2 separate regions of the Homo sapiens genome follow, and region 2 is linked to region 1. The links are contacts of gene promoters, found by promoter capture Hi-C in blood cells and fetal thymus (Javierre and others, 2016). All regions are on one chromosome and are shown on one strand. Each heading gives the region's core, a stretch centred on a gene start or on the middle of the fragment in contact. The rest is flanking DNA. Distances are from core to core; before and after follow the strand shown. Region 1 holds the start of MON2-AS1 (MON2 antisense RNA 1). Region 2 overlaps LEMD3 (LEM domain containing 3).

The links. Contacts are between HindIII fragments. The CHiCAGO score rates a contact against its expected background, and 5 or more counts as called.
Region 2: a fragment that was not itself captured here is called in contact with the fragment with the promoter of MON2-AS1 in region 1 in 1 of 17 cell types (non-activated CD4 T cells); the score reaches 6.0 in non-activated CD4 T cells.

What each region holds. Positions count from the first base shown.
Region 1 is chr12:62,482,294-62,487,167 of GRCh38, reverse strand. MON2-AS1 (MON2 antisense RNA 1) reads left to right here and starts at 2,226. Exons shown (of 2, transcript NR_186172.1): 1 at 2,226-2,399; 2 at 4,136-4,819. It overlaps MON2 (MON2 regulator of endosome-to-Golgi trafficking), which reads right to left. Exons shown (of 35, transcript NM_015026.3): 2 at 2,935-2,998. The HindIII fragment of the contact is 7,471 bases long and covers 1-2,718 here.
Region 2 is chr12:65,169,823-65,174,696 of GRCh38, reverse strand. LEMD3 (LEM domain containing 3) reads right to left here. Exons shown (of 13, transcript NM_014319.5): 1 at 3,579-4,874. Among named protein-coding and RNA genes, the nearest start is that of LEMD3, 2.7 kb to the right of the region's middle. RefSeq lists enhancers at 3,957-4,036, 4,779-4,874 and silencers at 4,030-4,233, 4,617-4,826. The HindIII fragment of the contact is 787 bases long and covers 2,542-3,328 here.

The sequences.
Region 1 (4,874 bases), core at 977-3,476:
AAATTTTGAAATAATGATCTGTACATCTGAATCAATGCTGACATTACCTGGCATAGCATTCCCACTTATGTCAGCATTCATGACAGCAGTGAAAACAAAGAAAAATAAACATTAAAGGAGGATGCTTAAAAGAAGGGGAGATGTAAAGCAAAGACTTATTCTGAAATATAAATAATATTCCCTTGGAAAATAAATCTAAGAAAACTAAAGTTGACTAGAAATCTATGCCGAGTATCATTAATTAAACTACTTGATCCAAATTAAAAGTTATCATTCTTACAACAAATCTTTATATATTCTGAATATACAGAGACATATGAGATTTCAATATCCAATCTCATTTGAGACTCCTCAATTGTTTGGTATTTTTGACATACATTAGAGCACAAAAGTAGTATAGTCTCCTATAGTCTCAAGTACCATAAAGAAGTAAATACTTCTCATGAAATTTTAAAAAGTTAACTAAAAATTTTTCTCAGTATTAACTGTACTCTTAATTATATAGTTTAGAAACTATATACTGACTAATTTAAACTCTGTTTTGAAGAGCCTCTGATTTTCAAGATGATAGTGGTCTATAAATCTACAACTTTTAGGTATAATTGCTTTAAATACTTCAGAAAAAATACTAGGATAAAGTTTAAGTGCAAATATACCTCCTCAAGTATATGGGCTCTGGATACTACGAAGATTAAAACATGACTATTAATTGTATTTGCACCAGATCTGTTCTAACTTGATTTGAATAATGCAAATTGAATTAAAATGAAATTAACAGCCTGCCTATATATTTAAATCATACCGACTAAGTCAAAATTTTTCTTACTCATCTTAAGAGTAATTTATTAGACATTTTACTTGGGATAGAATGCTGGAATAACAGTGATCCTCTGAGGAAATCAGTCTTTTTTTAAAAAAAGTCTTCCACAAACTATAAAACCAATAAAAATTTGTATTATTGGAGAATAATTAAGGACTTACCACGGTATCAACAATGATATTAGCAACAGTAAATATTTTAAATATTTACAGTGATATTCTAATACGATTGGCCTATGGTAAGTCTCCAACATAAAAATATCCAGGTCATCATTTTTCTTTAAACACCAATTTCCCCACAGTAGCTAATCTGCCTAATGTACATCTCCCATTAAAACCCACATGCTGGCCGGGCGCAGTGGCTCACGCCTGTAATCCCAACACTTGGAGAGGCCGAGGCGGGAGAACCCCGAGGTCAGGAGTTCGAGACCAGCCTAGCCAACATGATGAAACCCTGTCTCTACTAAAAATACAAAAATTAGCCAGATGTGGTGTTGGGCACCTGAAATCTCAGCTACTCGGGTGGCTGAGGCAGGAGAATCGCTTGAACCCAGGAGGCAGAGGTTGCAGTAAGCCGAGACCACACCATTGCACTCCAGCTGGGATAACAAGAGCAAAAGTCCATCTCAGGAAAAACAAACAGACAAACAAAAAAAACCCACTTGCCAGCCTTCCTAACCCTACCATGTGCACCTCTGCCTTTACCCACCACTTTCACTATACCACTTCTCAATATGCACACAGAGCATTATTTACTTCTGTGCATAATGTTATAAAACTATTGGGTGTTTTGATAAGACTGTTCAAAATCAGGGAAAAAGCTGTGGGAAACAGATGTAATTGAGGAGCGCTTATGCTAAGGGCAAATTTCCAGCAAAGCTGGATAGCCTAAGTGAAATCCACTCTTGCCCCCGATCCTTAATCTGACCCCAAAAATCTTAATTTCATTTCATAACACTCTGAAATCCCACCAGTTACAGATTTACTGGTATCCCTTTTAAAAAATGTAAAGTATATGAAAGTTAAAGAGATTATTTACTATTTGGACTCTGTAAATTAATTTAATAGGACTACTTTCCTCATAGATTAGCTGAGATCAACAGCACTACTGGAACTGGAAATGCAGATTAAAGGATCACTGAAGCAAGCACTGGTTACATATGTAATACTTGGGAGTAAGTGGCTAACGTGGAAACCTGGTGATACCATGGTAGCACACTGTAGCAGGAAGAACATGGGCTCCTGAACACTCCTGGATTTTAATCTGGTTCTATCACCTTTCCTGTGACCTTGGGCAAGTAACTTAACCTCTTCACATCTCAATTAGCTCTACTATCAAATAAGATAATATTTCCCCACAAGGTTGTTATGTAAGATAGAATGACACAAGTGCCTTGCATATAACAGATTCTTAAAAAAAAAAAAAAAAAAAAGCCAGTTTACCTCTTTTCCATGTTCATTATTGAGGCAAGAACAAAAGGCACCAAGGAAGAGAAAGGAGTGGACTGGGTAGAAAAGAAGGATGCCAAAGAGAAACTCCTGAAAATTCCTCCTTGAAAATCAGGTTCAATCAAGAGAAGGTAAGAAAACATTTTTGTTTTCTTTTCTCTACTTCACTCTCATTCTTTTTTCATGATCATACTGCCTTAATCCCAAGACTCAAAATTCATACGGTACAACTAAATACAGAAGACTATGTTATGAACTGTTCGTATTATATTAAAGAGAAAGTAGATCACAGAAGGTGGACTGAGAACAAATCTTTCATTCAATACAATGGAACAAATATTACTGAATGCTTTTTATGGTGTGTCTCAGGTGATTAGCAGGAAGTGGAGGAGAATGCGAAGATGAGTAAGAAAAAATTCCTTGCCTTTAAGGAGTCAGTAGTGTTAAGCTTTCTGATTTCAGAGAATTTTTGTAGCATTCGTCTCTGGGAAATACAGTCAGTTCATAAGTTATGGACTTTTGCCCATTCTGTTTCATTATGAATAGCATATGTTAGGGCATGAGGAAGAGATGTTACAGAAAACTGATGGCTTTTACAATAAAGATTCTACTTTTACTATTAGTCAAATTTTTGTTTATTATTAAATTTTTAATACAAAAAATTACCTGCCAAAATTTCAGTGTTTCGTGCAGCAATTGTTTTAACTTTTATTATTCCTGATTCAGCAGCCTGCAAGAATAAAAATAATTAGAACACAAAATTTACTGCCAAAATGAATTATCTATGGAAAATAAGTCATATGTGATAGACAAAATATCAAGCACAAAGTCAGTCACTACCCTACCACCTTTTTAATTTTCAAACCATCAGATACTAAGCCCAGTAGTGACATATACGTTAAATGTAATAAAACATGATTAATTTGATTATTCACATGCAAACTCTGAATGCACTACAACATGTTGCCTTCCTCTGCCTTAAGGCATTATCTGGAATACCTCAATCCCCTGCAAAGTTAAATTTTCCGAGAATAAAAATAACAAACAAAAACAAAATCTACTGAAAATAATTAGGCTCCTTTTCCCCATTTCAAGCCTCCTCTCTCTCCACCACACACAAAAAAATTATAGAACACTGCAAAATCAAGTAAAACTACTGTGTTGGATTTATTTATTTATTGTTGATGGAGTTTTTTGCTCTTGTTGCCCAGGCTGGAGTCCAATGGCACGATCTTGGCTCACTACAACCTCCGCCTCCCTGGTTCAAGCCATTCTCCTGCCTCAGCCTCCCAAGTAGCTGGGATTACAGGCACCCACCACCATGCCTGGCTAATTTTTGTATTTTTAGTAGAGTGTTTTATTTTTGTACTTTTTGTATTTTTAGTTGGCCAGGCTGGTCTTGAACTCCTGACCTCAAGTGATCCACCCATCTCAGCCTCCCAAAGTGCCAGGATTACAGGCATGGGCCACCGTGCCCAGACCTGTGTTGGATTTTAAAAGCTACTTTGTTTTCTTTTTTGAGAATGGATAACCAAACACTTCATTAACCGTAGTATGTTTAGCGGGCAGTACTGGCAAGTCACATAGTATTTTACAGAATGCCACAGAACTGCACTGTCCAATTTGGTAGCCATTTGGCTACATGTGGCTATTAAGCACTTGAAATGTGGCCAGTCTGAATTGAGCTATGCTCTAAGTGTAAAATATATACTAGGTTTTGAAGACTTAGTATTAAAAAAAAGAATATAACCTATCCCCTAAATATTTATACTGACTACATGTTGAAATAATATTTCAAATTATTACGTTAAATTATTATTAAAATTAAATGTCTGTTTCTTTTTACTTTTTTTCCCCTTTTTTTTAGAGACAGGATCTTGCTGTACTGCCCAGCCTGGAGTGCAATGCCACAATCATGGCTTACAGCAGCCTCAAACTACTGGGCTCAAGTGATCCTTCCACCACCGTCTTCCAAGGAGCTGGTACTATAGGTACATGCCACCATGTCCAGCTAATTTTTCAATTTTTTTGGTAGAGACAGGGCCTTGCTATATTGCCTAGGCTAGTCTTGAACTACTGGCCTCAACCGATCCTCCCACCTCAGCCTCCCAAAGTGCTAAGATTACAAGCATGAGCCACTGCACCTGGCTTCTTTTTACTTTTTAATGCAGTTAAAAATTACGTATATGTATTACATCTGTAGCCCACATTATAATTCCATTGAAGAGTGCTGAGATATAATATTGACATATTATTTCCATCATAGAAACTTGGAACATTTTTATTATTTAGAAACATGCTATTTTATACATACACTGTTATCTATACTTCCAAAGATAGTAAGTACGTACTCATAAGAAGCTATATGTACAAGTTTTCTTATTAATTTGCTTGCTACTTGGTCATTTATTTTATCTCTTACTGCTTGCTAAGGGACAAGTGGTAGCAGTCTCTAAAGGTTTAAAAATAATTATGTAAAAACACCAGTATGCTATGGCCTGTTAGTCTGACAAACAATGAATTGATGTCTAAAATAAAGAACACATTGTAAGATATACCATGTGCAGTAGACTTCTGTCATTTTGTTGGCTCCAAGCATGTCAAGC
Region 2 (4,874 bases), core at 1,686-4,185, 2.7 Mb before region 1:
ACTCTGCTGTTGAATGAAAATCTGTACACACACACATACACACACACACACAGAGATGTATTTACATGAAAAATACTAAGAAAGGTCAGAAAGGATCTAATACTTGAACTTATTTATATGGGGGCAGCATGAGGCTAGGAAGAGAGGCATACAATAACCATTCACTGTTTCCTTCATCTCTATTCAAACTTTCTGCAGAAGTCATGTCTTTTGTAATTGAAAAAAAAATTAATAATGATCATACGAGCCTAGGACAGTCAATCTATTCTGCTTCTCTATTTTCGTTTGGTGGGCTATAATGATCTAATCACCTGTGGAACAAGCGACTACTCTGATTGCAGGTTGATCCTTGAGTTGTTTTGGTATGGCAGTTCAAAGTTAAAATCTTAAATCTTGGAGCTGGAAAGAGCTTAGGGATCATCTAATCCAACCCCCTAGTTTTATAGATGAGGAAGAAGAGACTTATAGCAATTTAATTAATAAAAAAATAGGGCATTGATGAAAAAGTTTCAAAGACTATATGATTAAGAACAATTTAAAAGACTAATCTACTATATGTTATATGTAATTTAAATAATAAAAGCCTCCTAAAAGTTACTCTCACATATAACCTACAATCTTCTGGTGAAAACTATTACTCAAAGTAAACGTATTTCCCTAAGCATACTATTTGACCAATGAACTCTACAGTTAAAGCATCATAATATAACAAAGGATATGGAATACGTGTATGTATGTGTGTGTATATATATATGGAGTGAAAATATTATTCACTCTTGATACCCTAACACTGTTAGGTGTGCAGACTAACTGAAGTTAGCAGGCACTTCTTTCCACAGGGTAGACATACAATACATCAAGTGTATCATACATTTAAGGATTCATTATACTTTGATTCAAATTTCTGTATTAATTTCTATAATGTATATTTAATGGGATAAAAATCAAATGTTAGGTTAAGAAATGCACTATACTATGTCATTTATAGAAATGTCTTAACTATTTATCTCTCTAGATATACTGTAGTTTACCAGGAATACAACAAATTTTGTCCAAATTTCTGAATAATACCACCTTATGTTTAACACACTGTCTCACCTGACCCTCACAAACAAACCCAGAGACAGCAGATATTATTACTTCCATTTAGTATATAAAAATGAGGCTCAGAGATTAAGGAGCTTGACCACAGTCATTCAGACAAGTCCTAGAACCTAGATCCTCTACTTCTTAGCCATTGTTCTTTCCAACGCCCAGATTACTTCACATTTACCATTTACTAAAATGTAAATATAATTTCCTTCCTTCCTTATCAGTGAAGGTGAAGAGTACCAAAATCCTAGCATTCCTATCCTATTCTACCTGAACTTTTAGTACACCACATTAGTCATTCATCTTAACACTGATGAGAAAGATGTGAAAGTCACCTTAACTGAGAATTGTGCTTATCAATAATTCTGTATGAAATCCTACCAAATAGTCAATTACTTTCTTAATCATAATAAAGGTACCCACTTATTTAGAAAGCTCTCTACAAACAATAACCAAAACAGTGTTAAAATGGTCTTTCTAGTTGGAAATAAAATCTGAAACCAAATCTTAGCCCTACTACTAACTGTTCAACACTCAGTGCATTTCTTAACTTAGTATCATCCTCATCCAAAAATGAGGATACCACCACCTGCTTCTGTGAGTTGCTGGGAAGATTAGATGGTACAATAGGTGTAAAGCAATTAGCTCTTAGAAAATGGCCAGATCTGCTAACATGGTGAAACCCTGTCTCTACTAAAAATACAAAAAAAATTTAGCCAGGTGTGGCGGCACGCGCATGTAGTCCCAGCTACTTGGGAGGCTGAGGCAGGAGAATCACTTGAACCCAGGAGGCGGAGGTTGCAGTGACCAGAGATTGTGCCACTGCACTCCAGCCTAGCGACAGAGCTAGACTCTGTCTAAAAAAAAAAAAAAAGAAAAGAAAAAGGCCAGATCTTATAGTTGTTAGAGACACAGATGCAGATAGCTACTGCTGATAGGTAATGTCATTTAATTTATGTGAACTTTTACTTGTTTAACTTCTAGTGTGCCCTTATTTTTTTTCTCCCAAATATTTGGGGCAGGACACAATACACTCATGCTCCCAGGGAATAAACTAAAGTGAGAGCTGAATTTCATTCTTGTTTCAACCCCTGTAATTAAGCAACAGAGTAAAAATCTATTATTTGACTGTCTCGGAATTGGCTATATCTAAATCTAAGCTTACATTATTTTGACTCCTACTCTTTATCTGAGTTGGCTAACTGCATCTTTCACTCTATTTTGAAATAAAACTAATAAGCCAATTTTATAAATACAAATAAAAATACAGTGAATTCATCTTGGGTGAAAAGAGTAGGAAGCCTTCAGGGAGAATGCAGAGAGGGACCTAACACTGAGAAATTATGTATTCAGAAGTCCATTTTGTCCTAATTTACTTTCTCTTTTAATCTTCACAAACATTCTAGTCAATAGAGGCCTCATCTTATAGATTAGGAAAGTTCAGAAGCTTTAACTCTGACTCTCTCCCCTTTGCTCAAGGTGCTTAACCACTCTAACCTACAAGAAGGCTCTTGCTCAACTCAAGGCCTTAATCTCTGCTCAGAATGGTCTACTGTTTCTCCACAAGGCTGTCTCCTTCTGCTTCAGGTCTCACCTCAAATAGTACCTCCTCCGTTCAATCTAAAGTAGTGTACACCTACGTCAGTGTAGTCTGGTAAATTTTTTTAAAAAAGGAAAAAAAATAAAGTTGTGTACGCCAATTACTCATCTTTATTTCCTTCAGAGAACACAAAATGGTCTGTATTCATCTTCTTTTTGTGTTTAAGGGCAGAGATACTTTGATTATGACAATGAACACACCTGCCTACAGTCATTTAGCAAGTAAATAGTAGGACCTGGAAACCAATCCAAGGAAATCTGACTGCAAGCTCCTGCACTGCCCTACCACTACTTTTTGTACAGATGATAGGGAAAGTGCTTTGGGCTGGGAAATAAATTAAGAGGTGTGCCTTGCTGCTTTTTTATATTCATTCACTATAAAGAAATTATACATACAGTTAATACCACAAAATATTTAATCCGAATTTATGCATACAGTTAATATTATAAAATAATTCGAATTTCAAGAGCTATTACATTGCCTATTAGAATCACAACTCAATTTGGAAAAACACTACATTTATAATGTGCCTTATCCTAATACTTCAAATTTGTTAAGTAACTGGCATCTGCGCAAATAGTCTTTCAGGGCTAAAAGAGAATTGTCACATATACAAATGAGTTTTACTAACAAGCTTATAATATTCTTTTAAAAATTGTTTTGAATTTCACAATACATCATGCAGAAAACTTTTAAAACCAGCCATATGACATCATTTCGATAATGGTGTTCTTTAAGAAAGATGACACATGCACGCACTGTTGCGTTTTTGCTGTTAAACCATATTCTTGCAGGTAAGTCACTTCATGTAAAACGCTAAGCGCGGCTAAAGCGGACCACTAACAACATTCTCTTTGTTACCTTACCCACAGGATTTAATACTTACTGCTGAGTTCTCCATCCTCAGATACTCCTGTCCCTCTCATTCCTAGGTAAGTCAGTCCCAGTATTAGGAAAAATAAGCAGGCAGCAGTTAAGAGAAACATCGACAAGTAGTGGGCACTGAAACTCCCTGTTGGGGACACCTCCTCCCGTTTAAATTGCTGGAGAAGTTCCTCTTCGGGTTCGGAAAGCTTCGGTTTGTTGTATGTGTTTTTCAGGTAGGTATGATTGGAGCCCGTATGATTGGCGTGATTGATCCTGAGTGAACTAGAGGCGGCCACCGCCGCACTGGGAGGGAGACTGTTAGAATAAATCCTGGGGGAGTCCACACTGAAGGCCCCACCGCCAATATGATTATTGGTTTTCAGAAGGGAGCCTGTTGACGAATCCAAGGTTGAGTCCATGTCAGTAAGTGGCGGGGGCAGGAGAGGGGTCAGTTTCTTAGCGTTAACACGGTATCTAGGAACGGGGCTGGAGTCCACTTGATCACACCCTCCTCCCTGCTCCGCGGCCGCCGCCTCTTCGAGGTTTCGGCTCCTGTCTAGACTCCCGGCAGCCGCCGCCCTGTCATTCATCGCGAGTCCTCCCCCTCCCTGAACTGAAGTCTCCAGCCTGCCGCCGGCCGATTTAGCAGTCAGCGGGGGGAGAGGCTTACTATGGGTTCGTCTGGGCCGATGCCGGGAAAGGGAGTCGTCCTTTAATACCTGTCTGCTGGAGGCCACGTCGTCGTCGTCCTCTTCCTCTGAGTCCGAATAGTTTTCCCGGCAGCTGTAGGGGACAAGCCGGCTGCCATTCACGGTCCGGCTCGCCCAGAGCGGCTCCTCGGTCTCCGGGTCCCTCTCCTCACCGTCCTCTCCCTCCCCTTCCTCGTCCTCCACTGCTCCATCTTTCCCCGGCGGGGTCTGCAGCTCGGGGCCCGCCGGCCTCCTGGCCCCCCACCACGAGTGGGGCTTCCTTCGCTCTGCAGAGTTGCTGTTAGTCACCTCGCTGGCGGCCAGGGGCGCCGGCGGCGCTTTGAGCCCGCGGTACTGGAGCGAAGCCCGGTCTTTCCTCCCGCCGCCGCCGGCCTGGTCCCGGGGACTGGCCTCCACGTCCGACTCGTCCGAGCTGAAGCCCAGCAGCACTTTGCTGCCAGCCGCGGGGGCGGCGGAGGCGCCCCCGGGCCCTCCCAGGAGGCTCTCTGGGCCAGAGGCCGAGATTCGGCACAGGCCCCCAGGAGTCCGTAAGTAGGAGAGGTCGCCCGAGACCGGCCGGACCCCCATCCCCGCGGCCGCCGCCGCCGCTGGTCCCGCGGCTGCGA